Regions from separate parts of the Homo sapiens genome. Here all the other regions are linked to region 2. Evidence: promoter capture Hi-C in 16 types of primary human blood cells and fetal thymus (Javierre and others, 2016). All regions are on one chromosome and are shown on one strand. Each heading gives the region's core, a stretch centred on a gene start or on the middle of the fragment in contact. The rest is flanking DNA. Distances are from core to core; before and after follow the strand shown.

The links. Contacts are between HindIII fragments. The CHiCAGO score rates a contact against its expected background, and 5 or more counts as called.
Region 1: a fragment that was not itself captured here is called in contact with the fragment with the promoter of EMP1 in region 2 in 3 of 17 cell types (neutrophils, erythroblasts and total B cells); the score reaches 6.5 in neutrophils.
Region 3: a fragment that was not itself captured here is called in contact with the fragment with the promoter of EMP1 in region 2 in 15 of 17 cell types (megakaryocytes, erythroblasts, naive B cells and 12 more); the score reaches 13.2 in megakaryocytes.
Region 4: a contact is called between a fragment that was not itself captured here and the fragment with the promoter of EMP1 in region 2, in 1 of 17 cell types (megakaryocytes). The highest score is 5.0, in megakaryocytes.

The regions. Positions count from the first base shown.
Region 1 is chr12:12,936,065-12,942,587 of GRCh38, reverse strand. It overlaps GPRC5D (G protein-coupled receptor class C group 5 member D), which reads left to right. Exons shown (of 4, transcript NM_018654.2): 3 at 260-327; 4 at 1,739-2,013. The coding sequence ends at 1,813. The region is part of intron 1 of GPRC5D-AS1 (GPRC5D and HEBP1 antisense RNA 1); the gene reads right to left. Among named protein-coding and RNA genes, the nearest start is that of GPRC5D-AS1, 12 kb to the right of the region's middle. The HindIII fragment of the contact is 3,183 bases long and covers 607-3,789 here.
Region 2 is chr12:13,195,336-13,202,058 of GRCh38, reverse strand. It overlaps EMP1 (epithelial membrane protein 1), which reads right to left and starts at 5,333. Exons shown (of 5, transcript NM_001423.3): 1 at 5,187-5,333. RefSeq lists an enhancer at 2,793-3,293. The HindIII fragment of the contact is 10,564 bases long and covers 1,592-6,723 here.
Region 3 is chr12:12,893,845-12,900,571 of GRCh38, reverse strand. All of the region lies in intron 1 of GPRC5A (G protein-coupled receptor class C group 5 member A), which reads right to left. Among named protein-coding and RNA genes, the nearest start is that of GPRC5A, 5.6 kb to the right of the region's middle. The HindIII fragment of the contact is 611 bases long and covers 3,842-4,452 here.
Region 4 is chr12:12,872,581-12,878,425 of GRCh38, reverse strand. It overlaps the pseudogene RPL13AP20. Among named protein-coding and RNA genes, the nearest start is that of GPRC5A, 16 kb to the left of the region's middle. RefSeq lists an enhancer at 5,479-5,845. The HindIII fragment of the contact is 4,362 bases long and covers 263-4,624 here.

The DNA.
Region 1 (6,523 bases), core at 949-3,448, 260 kb after region 2:
AATTTTTGTATTTTTAGTGAAGACGGGGTTTTGCCATGTTGGCCAGGCTAGTCTCGAACTCCTGACCTCAAGTGATCCGCCTGTCTTGGCCTCCCAAAGTGCTGGGATTACAGGCGTGAGCCACCGTGCCCAGCCTCAGAATTCCTTTTAAAGAGTGAAGAGCCTGTTTGCAAGCCATGGAGTTTTCCTGTAGTCCTCATGTGCTGTTTCCGATTGACTCTCGGACACTAACCCAGCCCTTCCCTCCTTTGGCTTTCAGCCCGAGACAGTGATGGAGCTGAGGAGGATGTAGCATTAACTTCATATGGTACTCCCATTCAGCCGCAGGTAAATGTACTCGCCTATATTCACCCAGGAGGGACTTAGCAAGCATTCCTTCCTTAGGACAGCCTCAGGCTTCATTTCTAATGGCTTTACTGACCTGAGAGAGGAGAGACAGAGCAGGAGCATCCCTAAAGGCATGTGGAGCTTGAGCCACCCAGATTTAAGCCAGACCAGGTGGCGCAAGACAGCTTTCACCCAAACCCTCCCAGTCTTCATCGCCATCAACAATATAGCATTCTGATGCAAGTGCGTGTCCCTGGAAAGAAAGGGCAGCTTGAAGCTTCTGTGTGAAGGTGAAGAGCAGCAGGCTTACCGAATTTTGCCTCGGGGACAATACAGGATTGTAAATATGTCTGAGTTTGGGGTCAGCTTTTAGTAGCAGTTGTCTGAACCTATCACCTGAGCCCCACTGACTGCCTCTCTGAGTCACTGTCTAGCTCCAGCAGCCCAGGCTGCCCTAAGAACTGGGCAGGGTATGTCATCATCATCTGGATGCCCAGATGGATGAACAAATTTTAATCCTTTCAGGCAAAAACAGAGGGAGCACTGCTGAGTAGTTTGGGGGTAATTCACATTTGGGCTGTGAAGACTTGAAGACATACAAATCTAAACAGCCAAAAACATCACACTGGGACACAATTCTTACATTACGGGGATCAAAAGTAACTAAAGCCCCAACGTGAAAGCCACCCTCAGATCATTTATTCAATGAATTTACTAGGCCACTAACTAAGCTAACCCCTCTGGTATGTTATCTGAGAATTTGCCTTTTCCTAGAATGACACATGGACCAGGCCATAACTATATCATGTGCTTTAATCAACCCTCAGGAGGGCATTTACATAATGAAAACATCTTTATTGTCCCCTCCAAGAGTTTCTTGGATTCATTTCAATTTCCAGTGATCAGCTATTCAAGAACCTTGCTTGCAAAAAGATTCTTGTTCGTGGCTAAGGGGTAGCCTGGTATAGGTAGGCTCAGTATGTTTCTTCTTTTGTTATTGACAAAGAATTAAATGAAGGTGAGATAATAATACTTCAAACATAACTTTAGGGCCTGGCACAGTGGTTCATGCCTGTAATCCCAGCACTTTGGGAGGGTGAGGTGGGCGGATCACTTGAGGTCAGGTGTTCAAAACCAGCCTGGCCAAAATGGTGAAACCCCATCTCTACTAAAACTACAAAATTATCTGGGCATGGTGGTGCATGCCTGTAATTTCAGTTACTCAGAAGGCTGAAGCAGGAGAACTGCTTGAACCTGTGAGGCAGAGTTTGCAGTGAGCCCAGATCACACCACTGCACTCCAGCCTGGGTGACAGAGCAAGACTCTGTCTCAAAAAACAAAAACATAACTTTGGAGAATATCATTTCTTTTGTTGCTCAGAAAGTTGATGATGGCATTTCTTCCTTTCCAGACTGTTGATCCCACACAAGAGTGTTTCATCCCACAGGCTAAACTAAGCCCCCAGCAAGATGCAGGAGGAGTATAAATCTACAGGAAACACAAGTGGAGAAAACCCAGCAGACCGTCCTGGGTAGCATAGCCCTGATAGCCCACGGGGGCCCACAGAGTCACGCTGCCAATGAAGAGTCAGCATCCCACCTTCTGTTTCCTAACCCCTCCATCCACCAGGACCCTCCACCAGAAGACCACCATTTTGAGCATAATTACAATCTTGCTGGCCACCCTACCTTGACTGTGTCTCTTTCTTCATTCGTGTAACTGCAAAATTCCCTTTCTTAGCAATGCTGGAAAAGAATTGGTGCCTCTTATTCACAGAACTGAAAGACCCTGTCTGAAGAAATTAAGGGCATTCTAATGTGACAACGAGGTTAGTAGCAGCTTACTACTGGGTCACATGTCTGGTCAATTTTTAAATTGTGCTAAAAAACACAGAACATAAACTTCACCATCTCAATCATGTTTAAGTGTACAGTTCAGTAGTGTTAATCATATTCACACTGTTGTGAATTCTCTAGAACTTTTTCATCTTGCAAAACCGAGATTCTCAATCCATTGAACAGCTCCCTCCAGCCCCTGACAGCCACCATTCTACTTTTGGTTTCTGTGAGTTTGACTACTTAGATACCTTATGTAATAGAATCATACAGTATTTGTCTTTTTGTGACTGGCTTATCTTTCCTAGCATAATGTCCTCAAGGTCCATGTCACATGTTGTAGCATGTCACAGGATCTCCTTTTCTAAGGCTGAACAATATTCCATTGTATGTCTATACCACATTTTTTTTTATTTATCTGTCAATGGACATTTGGGGTTGCTTTCACCTCTTGGCTATTGTGAATAGAGCTACAATGAACATAGATGTGCAAAAATCTCTTTGAAATCCTGCTTTCAATTATTTTGGTGTATACCCAGAAGTGGGATTGCTGGATCATATGATAATTCTATGTTTAATTTTTTTGGGGAACGTCCACACTGTTTCCACAGCAGCTACAGCACTTTACACTCTTATCAACAATGCACAGAGTTCTACTTTCTCCACATCCTTGCCAACATTTGTTATTTCCTGGGGTGTTTTTATTTTTGGTTTACAGTGGTCATCCTAATGAGTGTGAGGCATCTAGTAATTTTTTTGTAAAGGAACTCAAAATACGATAGGTCCAGAATTGTCTACAAAAGTTAAGGCCAAATCCTCAGGATCACCACAATTGGGCGGTTTAAAGAACACGGACATTGCCATGGACTTGCAAGCTGGCAGGCTTTCTCTCCTGGTGCTACCTCCCTGTGACAGCTACTTGGGCAGCAGACATGGCTGAGGGCATGACCTGCTTTGCTGAGCCAGTAACAGCAAAGGAAGAGACACCCCAGCAGATGCTCATAAAGGATTTTATGTGGTGAACATAAAAAGCATAGTCTGCCTGTCTTGATGTTTCTAATGAGCTGGTGCCTCTGTGCTAATTTTCTTGCCTTTGTTCCTCATCAGCCCCACATTCTTCTGAATGCTTTCATCTGCGCTTAATATTCGTTTGTTATCTATTACAAGAATAAGAGGACCAGAGTCAGAGGTGTGCCTCTAGAAGGGTCCCGGGGTCTGAGTCAGCTCTCTCACCTTGCAGATGAGAGCACGGAACTTTGGAGAACAGAATGACTTACCCAAAGCCACACAGTCATTAGTGGTGAGCCAGATTTTCTGACTCCTAAGCCTGTCTTCTTCCCCCGTCCACTAGGCTCCTCCATGCCCATATTTCTGTATGAGCAAGTAAGGTGTGTTCCCCTTGAGAACAAATGGAATATTTCAGACCCGTGAGTGTTGAGTGCCTGCTAACTGAAAGCCTTTTGAAAAATAACTACAGCTTTATACATGCAACAGAGCCTTTTCTGTGGCCAGTGGACACCATAAGCTGTTCAATAGCAATAAATATTTCCTGAGCATCTGCAAGGTACCAGGAACCATTCTAGGACTCAGCCCCAGACAAGGCGTACAACACTGCTTTAGCAAAGCTTGCATTTTTGTTGTAGAAGATCATACAATGCAGAGAATTTCAGGAACACAGTTCCTTTGTTTTTCACAGACAGGGAGAAGGGACTTGCCCAGTATAACATGGCTTGTTAGCACTAGAACCAAGACCAGAATCCAGGTTTCCAAACCCCTATCCAGTGCTCATCTCTACACAATGTTCCAACGTTTTTTGTTTTTTGTTTTTTTTTTCCTGAGACGGAGTCTCGCTCTGTCACCCCAGGCTGGAGTTCAGTTGTACGATCTCGGCTCACTGCAACCTCTGCTTCCTGGGTTCAAGCGATTCTCCTGCCTCAGCCTCCTGAGTAGCTGGGATTACAGGTGCCCGCCACCACACCCAGCTAACTTTTGTATTTTTTTTTTTTTTTTTTTTAGTAGAGACGGGGTTTTACCACATTGGCCAGGCTGGTCTTGAACCCCTGACCTCAAGTGATCCACCCACCTCAGCCTCCCAAAGTCCTGGGATTACAGGCATGAGCCACCGCGCCCAACCTGTTCCAACACTTTCGTATGTTTTTCTGCTGCACTAAAATTTGCTGCTCTTTTTCAAAATCTGTGCCATAAGCAATATTATCAGCACAACCCAGGACCTAGGTAAATGACAAAAATGTTTGACCTACTGCCCTTATTGATAATGAAAAACGGAGAAAAAATGTTTAAGCATTAAGCAATGCTTTGGTCTATAGATTAGGTGGCATCCACATGAAGACCCTAATTTGAGAGGTAGAAACAAGCCAAAAAAAGTCCACCTGTTGTGAAAGAAAACCATTATAACACATCCTCCTGATGTTTATCCTAATAATCATAATAATACCTTCAACATAATTTTGTTTTGTTTTGCAAGCAGGAGATGTTTCTACAGAGTTGGCTAACAAATTCTTAAAAACTCATTGAAGCCACATACAAGGGCCTAATATTGTCTCCCAAAATGTTTTTTTCTAAAATTGATGAAGGCTAAAATTGAACCTTTTTACCAAACTGCCTCTGAAATTTACACCACAATTTATCTAATTTTAGACTGCCTATTAGTTAGATTTGGGGGGTTGTAGGTTGCAAGTGTCTCATTCAAGCTGTTTCAGGAATGAAGTTTGTTTTGTTTTGTTTTGTTTTTTTGAGATGGAGTCTCGCTCTGTCACCAGGCTGGAGTGCAGTGGGGCGATCTTGGCTCACTGCAACCTCCGCCTCCCGGGTTCAAGCGATTCTCCTGTCTCAGCCTCCTGAGTAGCTGGGACTGCAGGCGAGCGCCACCACACCCAGCTAATTTTTGTATTTTTAGTAGAGACGGAGTTTCACCATGTTGGCCAGGATGGTCTTGATCTCTTGACCTCATGACCCGCCCACCTCGGCATCCCAAAATGCTGGGATTACAGGCGTGAGCCACCACGCCCGGCCTGGAGTTTTATTTTAAAGTTACATATGACGGGGAAACAAAACTTCCTCAGGATACACAGTACAGCCTCTCAGCTGGCCTGACGGAGAGTAAGCACTGTCAGGCACTGGGAGAGGCTTGCTGTCTCCTGCGGTCACTTCTACACTTTCTCTGCTTCTTTTTGTGGGTATTTTCACTTATCCACCCACCGCCGGCTGACTGATTCTCTCACATGCCATAATTCAGCTGTTCTCTTAGGTTGAATCAGCCTGTGGATTGGCTGCCCTTGGGTCCGGCACCCACCACTGGTCCATTCAGCTGTGCCTGGCTTGGTTATGTGGGACAGACCTGGTCACATCTGCCTGCTTCCTCTGTGGGAAACTGTGGACAAAGAAATGTTCTCTGGGGAGCAGGGGAAACCATAACATGCACCATGAGAAACTAATACAGGAGAAATTAATCCTGAAAAATATAAAAATATAATTTTATAAAATTAGAGAATACTTTTTTTTGAGACAAGGTCTCACTCCATCACCCAGGCTAGAGTGCAGTGGCTTAAGCTATCTTCCCACCTCAGCCTCCCAAGTAGCTGGAACCACAGGTGCACCCCACTATGCCCAGCTAATTTTCTATTTTTTGTAGAGACGGGGCTTTGCTTTGTTGCCCAGGCTGGTCTCAAACTCCTGGGCTCAAGCAATCCACCCGCTTTGGCCTCCCAAAGTGCTGGGATTACAGGAATGAGCCACCACACCCAGGCTATGGAATACTTTTGTAAAAATACAATTGAATTTATTTCAAGTTTATGCAGCAATTCACATAAAGCCAAAAACTGTGAACTCTCTAAGTAGAGATCCATGAGGAACCCCTGCTTTTAAAAATAGATTTTTCCAGGTACTCAGGAGGTGGGAGGATTCCCTGAGCCCAGGAGTTCAAGGCTGCAGTGAGCTATGATCATGTCACTGCACTCTAGTCTGGGTGACAGTGAGACCCTATCTAAAAATATAAAATAATAAAATAAAACATAAAACTATTTATGGTTAACATATTGTACTCAATTACTCAATTTGACAAGTATTATTTGAAGATCTAAATTCATTTACTTTTTTTTGTTGTTGTTAATAGAGATGAGATGGCCAGGCATGGTGACTTACACCTGTAATCCCAGCACATTGGGAGGCCAAGGCAGGTGGATCACTTGAAGTCAGGGTTCAAGACCAGCCTGGCCAAGATGGTGAAACCCCGTCTCTACTGAAAATACAAAAAAAATAGCCGGGTGTGGTGGTGGGTGCCTATAATCCCAGCTACTCAGGAGGCTGGGGCAGGAGAATCGCCTGAACCCAGAAGGCAGAGG
Region 2 (6,723 bases), core at 4,084-6,583:
TGCCTGCCTCCTCCCTCAACACACAGGCCTGGGAAACAGCATCCCACTTGCCCTCCCTCCCTCCCTCCTGTCCTAGTTGCACCTTCCTCTTCCTCCTCTCAAACTGTTCCTCATTTGCTCCTGTCCACACCTGTACACCACACCTTCATGCTGCAGGGTCTCCCTCCTCAAGAAGAGGGTGGAGTTTCTTTCCCAGAGCCAGCTCAGTTTCTCCCTGAGCCTGATTCTGTTCCTGGTGAATGCTTTGCTGTTGTCAATGTCTTCACAGACTCAGCCTGCCCTCCTCATCTGAGCTGGCACCCTTTACGTTTAATTACTCAAACCTCTTTCTTTTATTCCTAGTGCCGAGTGAATGCTCATGGCTGAGGGTAAGTCCGGGGAACACCATACCTAAAGAATCTGTGAGTGGATGGGGCAGAGGAGGCTCCGTGGGTCCTCAAGGCACCCAGGAGACGAGAATCCTCTGCAAAATGCCCTTTTCAATGCCACACGTTGCCCTATTTCACTTTTCTATCAATTTTTACAGATTAAGCCAGCTGCTAGCATCAGCGCAAGGGATATCTCAAAATAGAAATGGTAGGATCTTAATTTTTTTGTTTTTCGTTTTTTTGGTGTTTTTGTTTGTTGGTTTGTTTTGTTTTTGTTTTTTTTGAGACAGGGTGTTGTTTCATTGCTCAGGCTGGAGTGCAATGGTACAATCATAGCTGACTACAGCCTCAAAGCCCTGGGGCTCAATCAATCCTCCTGCCTCAGCTTCCCAAGTAGCTGGGACTACAGGCATGCACTACCACACCCTGCTTTTTAAAATTCTTCTTTTAGAGACAGGGTCTCACTATGTTGCCCAGACTGGTCTCAAACTCCTAGGTTCAAGTGATCCTCCCACCTCAGTCTCCCAAGTAGCTGGGATTACCACGCCTGGGTGAATCTTAGAATCTCAGAGCCATAAGGGGTCTGAAAGAACCACCAAGTTCAACTTCCGAAAGCAAGAAGACAAGTGTCTCGCCTGTGGTTACATGGCAGCGTCAAGATAACACCACTGCCCCTCTGTCTTCCTAGTCAGCTGTCTTACATCTGCTCCAGGATTCTTGCCACGCTTTCAACCTGTGCTGAAAGGGCTCTCTAGTTTAACTACCCGGTTTGAAGAAACAATTCATGAAACAGGCTCAGCAAATAGAAAAACTGTCACAGCCACGTAAGTCCAAGCGCACCAACAGCAGAGGATTCCATTGCAGTTCCAGGGAAATGCCATCTCCACAACACAAAAGAAAACCTTGACCCAAACATTTTGTTAAAAAGGAAGAGAGAAGCAGCAATCACCACAGGTGTTTGTGCTTTCATCTTTCTGCTTTAGTATCAGTGAATCTCCCAGGTAAATTGAAGGAAATGGTTTTACCCAGGCAGGACACCAGGGACTGAATTGTTGCAAAGAGCAGTCTCAGGACGTGTGTATGTCGGGGCTGGGTGCTGAAGATTCAAGTAAACCCCTAACTGGAACCATATTTGGGCTTCCTTGATTACTGAATAGCAAGTGCAGTCCAGAAATTCAAGATCACCTGGGCGGATCTGGGAAGAGTATTAGAAAAGGGAAGCTTATGGTGAGAAAATTCCCGTTCTACGCTGGTTAAGGGTTAGGAGCTCTTCTCAAGGGGCTGATACCCAGATTGCTGGCCAGCAATTACAAGGAGGCTACATTTGATGGGCAGCCTGTTCCCGTAATTACTATGATGGGTGGTGACAATGTATAGGTGTGGGCTACATGAACTATGGACCAAATTATGGGACAATCCCCAAAAGGCCTAGCTAGAAGCCTGTGTCCTGGTATTGGATTGATCTAACCATGACCTAGTAGGTAGCAACACTGGGTGTGTCCCTCCGAGTATGTACATCTGAGAGTCCCAAATAGGCCTGAGCTTTTGTGTTAGGCAGCTATGTACATACATGTGGGAGGTTAAAGAAGGAACCATATTCATGCATTTAGAAAATTAAATACCTCCAAATCAAAAACCCCGTGAGTATGATTGACTATGTACATAATTCCAAACTTCAAAAATGCTCCCTGCCCTTCTGAGCCTTAGGCAAAAAAAAAAAAAAAAAGAAGAAGAAGAAGAAGAAGAAAAGATAATGCAATGTAGATCCATCAAGTTGTATTCATTAAATATTAAATAGGCGTTAAGTGTTTAGAGGATGAGAATCATTGGGTGGAGCAACAACAAAACCAGAATAGATATTTTCTGAGTTGTTTCAGGCCAGCAGAATCAGGAAGTTATAAGGAAGTTGATTTTGCTTGATTTAAGGAACTTTAATAAAATTAGAGTTGGCCTGCTAAGGGGAATGAGTGTGGAGGTACACACTGAGGTTCTGAGCTCCCCGCATCTGGAAATTTTAAGATCTGTAGGATGGCCATCTGTTCAAGATGGTGTAAAAATTAGATTTCTGCATACAGTAGGAGAATGAATGAGATCCAAGATCCCTCCCAAATTTAGAATTCTGTGAACGAAATGAAGGATGAAATGGAACTGACTTGCCTCCTGCCCTTTCCTGTGTCCACGTTTCAGTTATGTGCCCCACCAGGCTCCATAGAGTCTACAGAAAAGCAGTCTTGCCTCATCCACAAGTTTTCCCCGGTCTTCAACGTGTCTCTCTCCAGTAGTCCCTGTGGGTCTGGCACTACCTGAAATCCCTAGAGCCACCCAGAGCAAGCCAAGAGGGTCTACATTCCCGGGTGAGGGGTCTCCATGAAGCCCACTGACAAGGCTGGGAACTTGATGGGCCTAATCTGGTCTCTGGAGGAAGCAGGAAGGGCTGAGGAAGGCACAGTGAGTCCTTTCCACTCTCCACAGAAGGGATCTCTTTCCTTTCCCCAGCGGTCTGCCCAGCAGTCCTGGGAGATAGCCAGATTCTAAGGATGTGATTTGCTCCAAGTTGGTTCTTGATGGCCTTTTGCCAACTCCCAAGACAGTTTAGTACCCACAAACAATGTAAATGTGGGGGGCCCTCTGACCAGGGCGCCAGACAGGATGTCCTGCAGCCCCCGCCCCCGCCCCATTCTTCGGAGTCTGGGTGGAATTGGATCTGCCCCTGAGGGTGGGAGGCAGCGGGCAGAGTGGGGGGGAAAAATAACCCTCACATTTCGGGATTGTCAAAGCTGAAATCCAGAAAAACTCTCACAGCTAAGGGACTCTTTCACTACTTCTTGGAGGAAGAGCAGAGAGCAGGAATCAGAACGGTATTTTTCTAAATTGTCTTCAAACTCCAGGAAGTAACATGTAGCATATTTTCTCCTTTATAAACCTACAGTATCATGTGAAACCTTGCCACAAATAATGCAGTTCATGATGGTTTACACTCCCAACATTGTCAGGGCTTTCCGTGTGTTGACTGGTTATTAGTTTTAACCTGCACAGAACTAAAAGATTTGTATAATTTTCACAGGATATTAACACTATTGATTTAATAATGGCTAATCCACATCCATGTAATGTGGAAATAATAAACATGTGAAGCAAATGTAGGAGTTCCCTTCATCTTGAAAAGTTGCCCTGATGCCTACTCAATCGTCCCCCTTGGGGCAGTTTTACAAGGAGCATTGCCTGCTCAACACAGGGTTGATTACATGTAACTTCTCTCCCAACGTACTGCCTTTCTAAAGGAAAAGCCTAACTTTGTCAGACAAGCTGAATCCTGTCATTCTCATCTTGTTTACTTGGGGAAAAAATATACCAGTGTCTATGTTGAAATGGGCCACACCTCGGTAGACACTCACCCAAAATGCTAACCGAAAAAAAGAAAAAAAGAAAAAAAAGAAAAAGCACCCTTCTTCATTCCTCCAGATTTCATGATTAGCATGAGTGTTTGCATTTATACAATCACATTTCGGGAACAAGAGAAAAGATAAGCATTTCAAAACAATCACTGCCTTCCATGCAAAGAAATTCCACATCCACTTTCTTTTAAAAGTTCTTTTATCGTTTCTGGTATGCCATCTTTTCACTCAGCACTGAAAGGCAGCTCTTTCTGGGGTGAAAGCACAAAGCCACTCAACAATTTTTAACAGGCACAGATGAAGTTCTCCTGCCCCACCCTCTTCTCCAAACCCAGCTTCCCTTTTGCCTCCCCCGCCCTCCACATCTGGCCAAGAGAAGGCATCTGGAATCCTCATCAGCTCCTGCTTCGACCAAGTGAACCCCTCCCACGTTTCATTTAAAACACCATTTGCCTCCCTCTCTTTCTCTCTCTAACAGTTTTCTTTTTTCATTTTTTTTCTTTTTCTTTTTTTTCCTTTTTGAGACAGAGTCTCACTCAGCTGCCCAGGCTGGAGTGTAGTGGCGCAATCTCAGTTCACTGCAACCACCATCTCCCGGATTCAAGCAATTCTCCCGTCTCAGCCTACCAAGTAGCTAGAATTACAGGCACCTGCCATCATGCCTGGCTACTTTTTGTATTTTAGTAGAGACAGGGTTTCACCATGTTGGCCAGGCTTGTCTTGAACTCCTGACCTCAGGTGATCCGCCCGCCTCAGCCTCCCAAAGTGCTAGGATTACAGGCATGAGCCACCGTGCCCGGCCAACAGTTTTCTTTAAACAAACCAATCCCCCTCTTCCCATCCTGTGAGGAGAAAAAAAATACTTAAATTTAAACAGAAGTGAATAGGGAAGCAAACAGGCAGGAAAAGCAATGTCAAAAATAAACTGAAAACCAGTTATCTATCCACCACCACCCAAAAAATCCCAACCAACAACCAGCGAGCAGAGTAACAGTTCAAGTCCTGAAGCAATCGGAATCAAAACGGAGGAGGTGAAAAACATCTGGCCAGTTCCCGATGTCATTTCCAAGGTGTGTGGTGTTTCCTCCATAAACAGGATCCTATCCCAGTTTGTTTCAAAGTCCCTGCTCCCTCCACATCCTAGAACAAGAACCCGGTCACTGCCAGGCACGATTTTAGCCCCATCCCATTGATTTCCCCAGACTCCGTCCTCAAAATACACTTTTCTGAACTTTCTAGAAAAAGTTGTCTCTGTATCCACTTTGAGCCAAAAGTTTCAAGGACTTGGTTCTTAGAGGATCATAGAAAAATAGCGAAGGAAGAAAAGAAAAAGCAAAACTAAGATGAGGTCAGAAGAAGCAGAGCCGTGGAAAGGAAGGAGAAGTTTTGCTGAGAGTCCCCACAGCGTTGGGAGCTGTCCTACCTGAAGGGTCCCAGCGACAGAGGCGCTCTGAGTGGCAGGTGCTGGCAGCAGCCCTGGTCCGCTCTTCTGGAAGTATGTGACCGCACTGAGGGGAAGGACCTGCCTCCCGAGGTTATAAGTTTCCTCTGCTGGTGTACTGGGGTGTGTAATGGGCGGTTTCTTTTCACCGTGTTTTAAAGGAGTTTCTATGAATCAGTCTGGCTTTAAAAAAAAAAAAAAGATTTGTTGGTAAGCTACGCCCTGCTAAGCTGGCAGTCAGTCAAGAGTGGCTGGGAGTGAGCCATCAATTCAAAGAACCCTGTTGTAGGCTCTCTCTGACTCAGACACACAGACCACAGTGGAAAAAAGGAGGGACATTGCTTCAAATGAGTAACAGGATCACACAAATAGATCTGTTTACTGAAGCCCATTCCTCCTCACCAAAAAGGAGACTTGGTTACCATGGACATAAGGCAAAACACAAGGTTTCAGCCTGGGAGGGGGAGGAAAGGGGCCAGTGTCCTGCTGACTGAAGTCCTAGGTCATCATCAAGCGAGATTCCCAGTCTTCCTCCCCCATTAAAAGCATCAGCTGCTGCTCACTGTCAGGAATTATCAGATTCCTTTTTTTATTTACTTCCCTGCCTGACCCTGGTGCACTGTCCTGTGGGTGGCTGTACAGGGAGGCCCTGAAGGCGAAGGGGACACACTAGGAGCTCTTGCAGCCCTGCCTCTGAGTGATGGAGCACTGATTGAACAGCAGAGAATTCCTGGTCTTTCATTATGCTCTGCTAGTGCCCGTGTGGACTCTCCACATTCCAGGAGGAAGTCCTCTAGTTAAGAACTTTGCTCTCTGTAATAATCAGCTGGACCTTGTTCTACAATTGACTTTCTTGAACTTGGCCAGTAGCATAATCATCCCTACTACCTCCCTGCACCACTCCTCTCTCTCTCTCAACTCTGGAGCTGGGAGAGGCCTGTGAAGTCATCTCATCCCACAGCCCAGGCATTCCACTGGAGAGAGTAAAAGCCCAGATGCCTGAGTTCAAGCCCAGCTCTCCACAAATTTGCTGTGTGACTTTAGGCAAACCACTTAACTTCTCCATGCCTATTTTCTCATGCATAAAATGGAGATGGCAGGTATGTAACTCATAGAGCTATGATGAGAAATACACATATAGGGGCTCATGGCAGTGTGCATAGTGAGCGCTCAACAAATCTTAGCTACAAGGATTATTTTACTGAAGAAGCAGCTCAGGCCCAGAGAGGTGAAGTGACTTATTCAAGGAGATACAGTACGTTACCAGTAGCAGCTTGGATCTAGGTCAGCACATCCAAGCAATTCTATTTCTGTTATTCTCTGCTGCACCCTGACAACTTATTTCAATTCAAAATATGCGTGTGTAGTATTTATTCATTCATTCTGCCAATACAGGCTGCACGTCAGTCTTCACTGGGCCTGATTCAGAGCACTGAGTCACAGAAGTGAATGACATCCCTGCCTCTTGGAACTTATATTCCCTAAAAAGATAGAAAACAGACTGGTGGCTATTCACCAA
Region 3 (6,727 bases), core at 2,898-5,397, 300 kb after region 2:
AAGGGAAGAATAAGAACAAGAGGAAGAGGGAGGAAAGGAAGAGGAGGGCGAAGTCATTTCTTGGGTCAACTCCAAGCCCTCTGTTCCTCCTCCCCTTTAGGGAGAAGGGGTTTCAGCTGCCAGGCTGTGTGAACAAGTAAGTCACTTGACCTCTCAAAGCCTCCTCTCATCTATAAAATGCAGGACACGCTGCTGAACTACGTGGTCTGAACTCATGTTCAGCTCCACCGTTCACCCACCTGGGGAGCTTCATGTACAAAACTTCCAGATGTCTTTCTTTCTCCCCCTCATCCTCATTCTTGCCCCATCTCCTGTCATTAAAAGAGTATGTGCCACAAACTCCTACCCAAACTAAAAGCCAGGGCTAGAGGTAAGGTTGAAGGGTCTGAAGAAGAGACACAGCAAGGGACTGCCCACCTGAAGGACAAAGCCAGAGGCTCCTGGAGCAGCGCTGACCCTAGACATGGCCTTGACTGACACACAGCACTGACCACTGTGCAGGGAAAAACGTGAACATGTGATGAGTCTCCCGCTTTGGGTTTCTAACCTGAGACTCCTCTTCGCAACCAGAGAGATGGGGAAAGTGTGTAGAGTTGCTTGTGACTAGGCCTGGAAGTTTGCCCATGCTTATTCTACGCAGTCCTTCCCAGAGCATCTGAGAATGAATCATCTGGGGCCCAGAACCTTGCAAAGACAAACTGACTTTGTCTTCCTTCCTATGAGATTTCTCTCATTCTGTCAAAATGTGTCTTCGCGCCAGCCCAGCCCTGAAAATGTGTGACTTTCTAGCATTTTCATTTTTTCTCTATTCTCGAATTGCTACATTCAGTCAGTAGTAATAACAGTCATGATGTAATTATGAGTAAGAATAATGACAGCTACTGTCACCTCCTGAGTCCTATTATGAGTCAGGCACTATGCTGAGTAGTTATGTATTTTTACACATATTCTCTCATTTACATGCTTTTACATCCATTACCTCATTTAACATTCCTACAGCCCATTTTATAGGTGAGAAACCTAACAGAGTGAGGAAGGTACATGTCCAGTGTCACATGGTCAGAAAGAATAGCTCTTTATAAGTAGTCATAATCATAATTCAATCCTCCTTTTCACCTCTAAATCACTGTCATCATCTCTAGAGCTTTTCTCCCTGACCCCAACCTCTCTCCATTTAAACCACCATATATTCAAGCATTGGCTTGCTGAGAAGTCTCCAAAACAAGCAACCCTGGCCGGGGGCAGTAGCTTACGCCTGTAATCCCAGTACTTTGAGAGGCCGAGAGATGGGAGGACCACTCGAGCCCAGGAGTTTGAGACCAACCTGGGCAGCATAGTGAGACCCCCGCTGTACAAAAAGAAATTAAAAATTAGCCGGGTGCTAATTTAGCCAGGATCACACCTGTGATCCCCCTACTCGGAGGGTGAAGCAAGAGGATTGCTTGAGCCCAGGAACTCGAGGCTGCAGTGAACTATGATCATGCCATTGCACTCCAGCCTGGGCAACAGAGTGAGACCCTGTCTCAAAACAAAAAACTAAATAAATAAATATAAAATTGTGGCCACTGCCCTTGGAATGAATAATAATCACACTGACATACAACTAAGAAGTTATGGAATACATTAGGAATGCTGAGGGCACATGGAAAACAGTGACCCATTCTACCTAGTGGGGTTTTAAAATAATTATTTTTAATGTTTAATGCTTTAGGGAAGAAAGCAGGGAGATGAAACATGAAAGATGAACAGGAAATGGTAGGAGATTTTTATGAAGGTAGAAGAGACAGGGCTTTGGGAATGGAAAAGCCCAGGTTAACTCCCAGATTTCTGGCTTAGGCAACTGAGTGGCACCACTGTCAGAGCCTAGAAATACAGGCTTGAAAGGAGAGATGCTAAGTGTAGCTTTGTTGGCTCTTTGATAAATATGCGACCTGCACGTGGAGCTATCCAGGAATAACAAGTCAAAAGACCCAAGTCCTCTTGAGAGTTTCCTCTGAGCCATATATGGTTTCCTTTCTTTTTTCTTTTTTTTTTTCTTTTGAGACAAAGTCTCTCTGTCGCCCAGGCTGGAGTGATGCAATGGCACAATCACAGCTCACGGCAGCTTCGACTTCCTGGGCTCAGGTGATCCTCCTACCTCAGCCTCCTGAATAGCTGGGACAGGTGCGCACCACCACATCTAGCTACTTTTTGTATTTTTTGTAGAGGTGGGGTCTCGCTATGTTGCCCAGGCAGCTCTTCAACTCCTGAGGCTCAGGTGATCTGCCCGCCTCGGCCTCCCAAAGTACTGGGATTACAGGCACAAGCCACTGCTCCTGGCCATATATGGTGTTATTTAATCCTCACAACAACCCTATTATTATGCCTTCCTTTAACAGCTGAGGAAACTGAGGCACAGAGAAATTACATAACTTGCCCAAGATTACATGACTCTTAAAAGCCAGGCTCCTTGACACTGGGTTGTGCTGTCTCTGCACCGTGGGCATATGGGTTGGTGCTCAGGAGAGGTTTGGGCTGTAAGCACAGACTGGCAGTCATCACCTAGAGTGGTATCTGAAGCCTCAAGAGGAGACAAGATCACATGGGAAGCCAAGGACAGAACCATGTGGAGCACCATCTCATCTAGGTAGGAGTCCGCAAAGGAGGTTAAAAAGAAATTATCGGCCGGGCGCAGTGGCTCACACCTGTGAGCCCAGAACTTTGGGAGGCCGAGGCGGGTAGATCACCTGAGGTCAGGCGTTAAGAGACCAGCCTGGCCAGCATGGTGAAACTCCATCTCTACTACAAATACAAAAATGAACCAGGCATGGTGGCTCACGCCTGTAGTCCCAGCTACTCAGAAGGCTGAGGCACAAAAACCGCTTGAACCCAGGAGGCAGAGGCTGCAATGAGCTGAGATCACGCCACTACACTCCAGCCTAGGCAACAGAGTGAGACATGGTCTCAAAAAAAAAAAAAAAAAGAAGCGTATTCGCTCCTTTTTGTCTGTCACGGCAGATCCAGCCCCAGTTTGAGCTTCAAGGCCTTTCTCCAATTAGTCCTCCCACCTATCTCCTCCTTCCTCCCTAACTCCCGTCTCCACCTCCGTGCAAGGCAAGCAAATCTTCCTAGAGTTCTGTATTTTCCATCTGGAAGGGAATTTGGGTTCATTTAAGGTCTTCTCATGCTCTTTGCCTCAACACATGAATTATTCTCCTAACCAGAAAGATCCTCTCCCTCCTATTTATGATCCACTTACCATATTTCTGCAAAACTTTGCCCAAGATTTAACCTCTATCATGAGTTTTTTAAATTATTATCATTATTACTATTAATCCTATGGCCTTTTTTTTTTTTTTTTTTTTAAGACAGGGTCTTGCTCTGTACTCCAGCCTGGGAGTACAGTGGCATGATCTCAGCTCACTGCAGCCTCTGCCTCTCAGGTTAAAGCGATTCTTGTGCCTCAGCCTCCTAAGTAGCTTGGATTACAAGCATGCGCCACCACATCCAGCTAATTATTATATTTTTAGTAGACGCAGGGTTTTGCTATGTTGGCCAAGCTGGTCTCGAACTCCTGGGCTCAAGTGATCCACCTACCTCAGCCTCTCACAGTGCTAGGATTACAGGCGTAAGCCATCACACCTGGACTTGAAATCCTATTGCACTCTAAATGTGTCGATCTCTTCATGGTTTTTACAATTAAATATTTCTTGGCACTCAAGTTTTTCCATATCTTTGTTATATATTACAAATTAATATCACTGCTGAGCTGCCTATCAGACAACAAGCTTCTTTGTGGCATCTATCTCCTAGGAAGATAGGAAGGTGGCGTGAGGCACCGTGCCTGGCCAGACAACAAGCTTCTTAAGAAAATAGAGCAAACTTCTATTTGTTGGTATCCCCCTTACTCTGTACTCTACACAGTGATTGCTGAGCAAATGCTTTGGACTAAGACTGAGTGCTGAATATTTACCCAAAGCAAGTTATTTATTGGCAAGTGTGAGTAATGGGGAGGAAAATTTTTTGGAGATGAATATGTGCTGATGTTAATCCTCGTATTTCTACCCAGGCTGAGTTCTTCTAAGGGAGAAGTCCTACAGAAATCCCTCTGCCCTTGATAAAGGATTATTTATAAATGCAAAGCGTCTACAGGGAAATCTCCAGGATCCCCTATTCTGGGTAGCCATCCCAACTCTGATGACATAAAAGTGATGAATCATGGCAATAACTTATGAATAACATCTGAATAACATCACTGAATTGAGTTTCTATGCAATAATGAGAGAAAATAAGTCATCATAGCACCACAGGCAGATCAAAACAAGTATAACCACGGTGTTCATCCCAATTTCTACACTTCCAGATAGTTCCCTGGGCGTATTACCATCTTCCTGTTACTCTAAACGAAACATGTAGACTTGATTAATGTGAATATAAAATGAAATACTGGAAATCATCTTTTTAAATAAAGCTTAATATTTGAGTGAAGCTTCTAAATCTCTTATGCCCGAATTCAAAGAAATGAAATTTCCAGAAAATAGGAAAATAAAGTGAAGTCCTCTACTAGTATACTATCCTTTTTTTTTTTTTTTTTTTTTGTGAGACAGAGTCTCACTATGTTGCCCAGGCTGGAGTGCAGTGGCGTGATCTCGGCTCACTGCAAGCTCCACCTCCTGGGTTCACACCATTCTCCTGCCTCAGCCTCCCGAGTAGCTGGGACTACAGGCACCCACCACCACGCCCGGCTAATTTTTTTTTTTTTTTTTTTTTTGTATTTTTAGTAGAGACAGAGTTTCACTGTGTTAGTCAGGATGGTCTTGAACTCCTGACCTCGTGATCTGCCCGCCTCAGCCTCCCAAAGTGCTGGGATTACAGGTGTGAGCCACCGCGCCGGCCCTCTACTAGTATACTATCTTAAGGCTCTCAAAGATCCCTTCATTTAAATATCTTATTCTGATACATAAGGGTAATATTCACTGGATCCAACAAGTTCAAAGCTAAACTGATCACCTCTCCTTACAAGCCTATCTTTCAAAGCCCTGAGAATGGCACTACCATCTACTCAGTTGCTAGTAGATCTAAAAATATGATATGATATATACTGTCTAATGCAGAAGGAGATGGAGACAACCAAACCATATAGCCTAAAATTAGATGACAATAACAAGTAACTATTATTACAAGAAATGTAAATGGTAACTATTTTGAAAAAAAAAAAGACTAAACTATATCATACCTAGAAGAACCTAACCTAAAACAAAAAGATACACAAGAGTTAAAAGCAAAAGAACAGAAAGAAATGAAAATAAAAAGAAATACTAACATAATATTTATTTAACAAGTATTATGTGTCAGACACAAAGTTAAGTAAGTTGTTCAAGGTAAAATAATTAAGTAGAAGTTAAGGTTTTAATATCATACAAAGTTGTAATCAAAGCAAAAAGATATTATATTGACCAAAAGGCTTGTTTTATAATAATTAGGGATGCTCTACACTGAAGATAAAACCATCCTGGGCCGGGCACGGTGGCTCACGCCTGTAATCCCAGCACTTTGGGAGGCTGAGGCGGGCAGATCACGAGGTCAGGAGATCAAGACCATCCTGGCTAACACGGTGAAACCCTGTCTCTGCTAAAAATACAAAAAATTAGCCGGGCATGGTGGCGGGCACCTGTAGTCCCAGCTACTCAAGAGGCTGAGGCAGGAGAATGGCGTGAACCCGGGAGGCAGAGCTTGCAGTGAGCCGTGATCGCACCACTGCACCCCAGCCTGGGTGACAGAGCGAGACTCTGTCTCAAAAAAAAAAAAAAAAAAAAAAAACCATCCTAGACTTTTATGCACCAACTAATATAGCACCAAAATACGTAAAACAAAAAGTACTGAAGGCTGGGTACAGAGGCTTACACCTATAATCCCAGCACTTTGGGAAGTGAAGGCAGGAAGATTGCTTGAGCCCAGGAGTTTGAGTCAAGCCTAGGCTACATGGCAAAACCCCATCTCTACAAAAAATTTAAAAATTAGCCAGGTGTAGTGGTGGGTGCCTGTAGACCCAGCTACTCAAGAGTCTGAGGCAAGAGGATCACTTGAGCTTGGGAGGTGGAGGTTACAGTCAGCCAAGATTGTGCCACTGCACTCCAGCCAGGGCAACAGAGCAAGACCCTGTCTCAAAATAAATAAATAACTGCTGAAAATACAAGGAGAACCCAAAGGCAATACTATAGTTGCATGAGACTTTCATACTTCTTTACCAGTCCTTGGCAGATAAAATATACAATATGAATAAGAACATGGTAAAATTGTGTAAATGTTCTATGGATACTTAAATAGAAATATTCTCTATCTTCATATCTTATTAGATCTCCATTACTAATCATATAATTCAGATCCTCTATATCAGTGATCAGCATAGATTTTCTATAAAGGGCCAGGTTATAAGCAATTTAAGACTCTGCAAGCCACACATTTGTAGCATGAAAGCAGCATAGATGATACATAAACATATGAGCATTGCTGTGTTTTAGTAAAATAGTGGATTACAGGTTGTGGCTCATGCCTATGATCCCAGCACTTTGGGAGGCCGAGGCAGGCAGATCACCTGAGGTCAGGAGTTTGAGACCAGTCTGGCCAACATGGTGAAACCCTGTCTCTACTAAAAATACAAAAATTACCCAGGCGTGGTAGCGGGCGCCTGTAATCCCAGCTACTTGGGAGCCTGAGGCAGGAGAATGGCTTGAAACCTTGAAACCGG
Region 4 (5,845 bases), core at 1,194-3,693, 320 kb after region 2:
ACTGCAGGAAAAAATATATATATTTTATCTATAGACAGTAGGATTTTTTTTCCCTTTCACTAAAATACACCATGGAATAGTCATCAGAAGGAAACTTTTGTTTTTAACCAGTATTGTTTCTCTTTCATGATAATGACATCTGATATCCAGAGCTTTTACAGTTTCCAAAGCCCTTGTGCTTGCTTTGTCTTGTTTTTAATCTTTACAGAAACTCTGCAGAGCAGATGCTATTAGCCTCATTTTATAGATGAGGAAAGAAGCTTGGAGAGGTTAAGTTACCATTAGAAAGCGGTGCGGCACCACCCGGCCCAGCCCTGACTGCAGAGCCAAGTAGTCTTTGCTGCATCCCTCTGCCTCCAGAGAGGCCCTCTGGCCCTGCAGGTGGCTTTAACATTAGAGGCTGTGGCCCCTGCCATCTCTCCCCCTAGAGAACTGTGCGGAGGCCCCCGCCCTGCTGAGCTCATTTGCAGCTAATGTTGCCCTGAGGCCTTGGTAAGTTACACAGTCTGCTTTTTAGACTGTTAGGTTTGGCAGGGACTGCGGCTCTGCCCTTAATTTCTCTTTCCCAAGTGAAAATAGCTGATGAATTGACTTCGCTGAGCCGGGCTGGCATCTCTTAGCAAATGTCTCCATTCACAGCTTGTTTTCCATAATTCATGTTTGGTGCTATTATTGTATTTCTACCCATTCCGAGATGTAGAACAGAACTATCAAATGGCCGTGTCTTTATTTGCTATTAGTCAGGGACTTCATTTCTCGGGATCCAGCTCACCTGTAATCTCAGGGCTTCTGGCAGGCAAGGCTACTCTTGTCTAGAACAAGCTGGGAAGGAGATGCTCTCAGTGCCAGGCCTCCTGCTCTCCTCCCCAGTTCCACCCCACTAATTCCAAGTCCTTCCCCATATCTCCTCTGTCCTCTGAGCACCTTCTTCTCACTTCTAACCTGCTCTTGTTTACACTAACAACTTCTGTTGAGCACCTTCCTTATTCCAGCGCTTTATAGTCATTATCCAAACCCATTTTATGCTCCCAGGAAGAAGCTGATAAGCATATTCATGGCAAGGTTTATAAGACAGATAAGGTTTAATGGGCTAAACCCAGGGCACTTTAGAGGAAACCAGAGACCTTCCAGCATTGTAAGCCAGGTGAGGAAAGAAATGTATGCCTCGGTTTAGTTTTGGTTGACTGGCAGTTTCTTCCTATAAGACCTTGAATTGTGTTAAGGATTCACCTGTTCCTCTTTTGCAAGACTGTCTGGCAAGTGTCACTACTCATTTCAGTTCAGTGCAGTGCTATATATTAAGCATCTATTATGTGCAGGGCATTGCACTAATGTGGCAATACAAAGATCTCTGCACAAAGGAGGCTCCCGGACTCCTGGAACTAAGGAAAGGTAATAATGACATTTTTCAGAGGAGATTTTGTTTGTTTCTTTGTTTGTTTTTTGAGACGGAGCGTTGCTTTGTCGCCCAGGCTGGAGGGCAGTGACACGATCTCGGCTCACCACAAGCTCCGCCTCCTGGGTTCACGCCATTCTCCTGCCTCAGCCTCCCGAGTAGGTGGGACTACAGGCACCCGCCACCACGCCCTGCTAATTTTTTGTATTTTTAGTAGAGACGGGGTTTCACCATGTTAGCCAGGATGGTCTCGATCTCCTGACCTCGTGATCCACCTGCCTCAGCCTCCCAAAGTGCTGGGATTACAGGCGTAAGCCACCGCACCCGGCCCAGAGATGTTTTAAGGGCTTCTTCAACTCACTACAGGTTCAGAGTGACTGCTTTACAGACTTAAGTTATAAAATAAGCCCAAAGATAAGACACTAGAAAAAAGAATGAACATACAAATGGAACTAATTTATAAACATATACAAAAAGTTAAGTCCCCTCTCTCGGTTACTGTAACCACTCAAGGGGTTCACCTTGCCCGCTACATAGACAGACCAATTCATCAAGACAGGGAAATTGCAATAGAGAAAGAGTAAATCACACAGAGCCAGCTGTGCAGGAGACTGGAGTTTTATTCTTACTCAAATCAGCCTCCCTGAGCATTTGGGGAGCAGAATTTTTAAGGATAATTTGGCAGATGAGGGGAAGCCAGTGAGCCAGGAGTGCTGATTGGTTAGAGATGAAATCGTAGGAAGTCGGAGCCGTCTTCTTTCAGAGTCAGTTCTGGGTGGGGGCCACAAGATCAGATGAGCCAGTTTATTGATCTGGGTGGTGCCAGCTGATCCATCAAGTGCAGGGTCTGCAGAATATCTCAACCACTGATCTTTTTTTTTTTTTTTTTTTTTTGAGGAATTAACAGTCTTTATTGGGCTCAGACCAGGAGTCCGTGGGTCTTGAGGACTTCTGTGTATTTGTCAATTTTCTTCTCCACGTTCTTCTCGGCCTGTTTCCATAGCCTCATGAACTGTTTCTTCTTCCGGTAGTGGATCTTGGCTTTCTCTTTCCTCTTCTCCTCCAGGGTGGCTGTCACTGCCTGGTACTTCCAGCCAACCTCGTGAGCCAGGCGCCCCAGATAGGCAAACTTTCTTGCAGGCTTCAGACGCACAACCTTGAGGGCAGCAGGAACCACCATCCGCTTTTTCTTGTCGTAGGGCGGTGGGATGCCGTCAAACACCTTGAGGCAGTCCAGAGCGGCCTGGCCTGGCTTGGTCTTGTGGGGCGGCATACCTCGCATGGTCTGCCAGAAGATGCGGCTGGGGGCCTGGAGGGGGTAGGGGCCTCGGGAAGGGTTGCTGTTCATCCGCTTGCGGAGGAAAGCCAGGTACTTCAACTTGTTTCTGTAGAAATTGCCAGAAATGTTGATGCCTTCACAGCATACAACCACCACCTTCCGGCCCAGCAGTACCTGTTTAGCCACGATGGCCGCCAGGTGGCCCAGGAGATGGCCTCGACCATCAAGCACCAGGACCTGTACCTCCGCCATCTTCGGCAGCCGCTTGGGAAAGAAGCACTGATCTTAGGAGCAGTTTAGGGGAGGGTTGGAATCTTGTAGCTCCAGCTGCATGACTCCTAAACCATAATTTCTAATCTTGTGGTTAATGTTCATCCTACAAAGGCAATCTAGTCCCCAGGCAAGAAGGAGGTCTGCTTTAAGAAAGGGTTGTTACCGTCTTTGTTTAAACTATAAACTAAGTTTCTCCCAAAGTTAGTTCGGCCTACACCCAGGAATGAATAAGGACAGTCTGGAGGTTAGGAGCAAGAGGGAGTCAGTTAAGTTTGATCTCCTTCACTGTCTCAGTCATACTTTTCCAAAGGCAGTTTCAAGCTGATTTTCCGCTGTGAGTACTTCCTAAAGGAGCCTGATCTCTCACTGGTACGAGTGACCAGAGGAGGCCCTGCAATGGCAAGCAGGAGGGGGAAAACAGAAAGGCCTAGAAAATCAACTCCAACTGTTTGACAGCGTTGCTTTGAGATGCAGGAAATGAAGAGTGATTGGAATGGCCCGGTGTGATGGTTCACGCCTATAATCCCAGCATTTTGGGAGGCTGAGGCGGGCAGATCACTTGAGGTCACGAGTTTGAGACCAGCCTGGCCAATATGTTGAAACCCTATCTCTACTAAAAATACAAAAATTTGCCGGGCATGGTGGTGCGTACGTGTAATCCCAGCTACTTGGGAGGCTGAGGCAGGAGAATCACTTGAATCCGGGAGGCGGAGGTTGCAGTGAGTCGAGATTGCACCACTAACATTCCAGACTGGGCCACAGAAGGAGACCCTGACTCAAAAAAAAAAAAAAAGAGTGATTGGCAAAGCGCCCTGCAGTGCCTGATGTTATTATTAGTTCCTCTTTCACATTCCTCTCTCAGGCCTTCAAATTCCAGTAACCAAAGCTGTCATTCACCTCATGCTGTGATGAGGACTGGGCATGCATTTTCTCATTCAATCTTGATAGCAACTGGATGAAATGGACATTATATGTATCCCCACATTATAGGGAGGAAACTGAGACTTCATAAGGTTAATATCTGGCCCAAGAGAACCAGAATCAACTCCAAGTTTCTCCAGCCAGAGACTAGGCTGGTCATCACCACTTTAGATGGAGGCTGATGCTCACTGCCTCCAAGGGTTTCTGTGGATTGTAAGTGGAGCTCTGTGCCATGGAGGAGAGACAGAAAGGAGGCCCCAACCCTGCAGGGCTGAAGAGGCTCCCCAAGACTGACGCCTGCTCACTGTCTCCTCCCAAAGGGCTTTTAAAGGAAACCAGGAAGTAACATTGTTCCCCATATATGGGGTCTGATGGTGTCACTTTGAGTAGAGAAGAGGCTCCTATGAGATCCCATTCTGAAAGGGAGCAGGCCAGCCTGGCCTTTGCAGGGAGGCAGTGCATACCTGGACTAGAAGTTAGCTTTATCACCAGCTCTTTATTCTTTTAACATTTGGTTAATAATCATTCATTAAACATCAACTATGTATCAGGTTGTGTGCTAGGTCCTGATTAAAATAAAAAGTATTGTTCCTGCCTTTAGAAAAGGTAATAGTCTAATTTGCAGAGAAGGCAAGTAGATGAAGCTGTAATACAATGTAGGAAGTGCTGAAAATGAGAAGCAGTTAGGAATAAGACTGGGTTTAATTCTGAGTTTGACATGTAAGTGCAGTGGAGTTATTTAAAAACTGTAAGCTTCAATTTCCTCAGCTATGAAATGGGGATAATGAGACCTTCTACCTCTTAGGCTTTGTTGAAAGGATTAAACAACAAATGTATGTAAAATGTTTAACTCTAGGACTGTTCCTGGTTATCTGGTGAATAACTGCCAATTCTCACAATCTTGGGCAGGTGGCTAAACCCTTCCTCTTCGGCTTCCCAATCTGTAAATTCAGGCTGACACATCTTCCAAACTTCTGGATCTGTCAATCAACAGAGGTCACCTAAAAACTCTGAGAGGAGTTACGAGAACATAGAAGGAATAAAAAGCCCTCAGAAGGGCCAGGTGCGGTGGCTGACGCCTGTAACCCCAGCACTTTGGGAGGCTGAGGTGGGCAGATCACTTGAGGTCAGGAGTTTGAGACCAGCCTAGGCAACATGGTGAAACCCCATCTCTACTAAAAATACAAAAATTAGCGAGGCGTGGTAGTGCGCACCTGTAGTCCTGCTACTCAGGAGGCTGTGGTAGGAGGATCACTTGAGCCCAGGAGGCAGAGCGAGCTGAGAGCATGCCACTGCACTCCAGCCTGGGCAACAGAGACCCTGTCTCAAAAAGAAAAGGAAAAAAAAAAGCCCTCAGAGGGCTTCTAGAAAAGCTGGGAGACTAAGAGGAGCAATGCATTGAACACAGAAGTGAGTCAGTGTGAGCTGTATGGTGTCTACTCTTCCCTCTGTGGTTCTTCAAAGGGAGTAGAGGGTGGGTGATGGGGGTGACTCAAGAATGCATAGGACTTTATCAATCAAATTCCCATACGGAATCAGAACAAGCCTGGCAGGTTCATGGACCAGCGAAGAGATTAGAGCAGATCCTTTCAGGGATCATTTAGATTATCATCATAGACCTTCAGGGTCGCCTAACTGGGTGGATGAGAACACCGCTGGGCTCATGCTTTGCCCACAGTCCCAGCAGTCACCCTGCTGACTCAGATGTCTTTCCTCAGAAGCTCTCTCCTGCAAGCGGCAGCTGCTGGGGTCACCTGTCCCCAGGTGCCTCATCTCATCTGGCTCCTCAAAACTCCTCCGCTCCACCCATCAGCCTGCACCTTCCAGGAATGCAGATGCCATGACCAATCTGCGTCCACAGAGAATGTTTGAGAAACACAGCTTGAAAGGCCAGTGATGCCCCCACAGAGTGGCCAATCACATCTTGCTAGAGTTTTCTATGCCAATAAAACCAGAAAAAGCAAACAAACACTTTC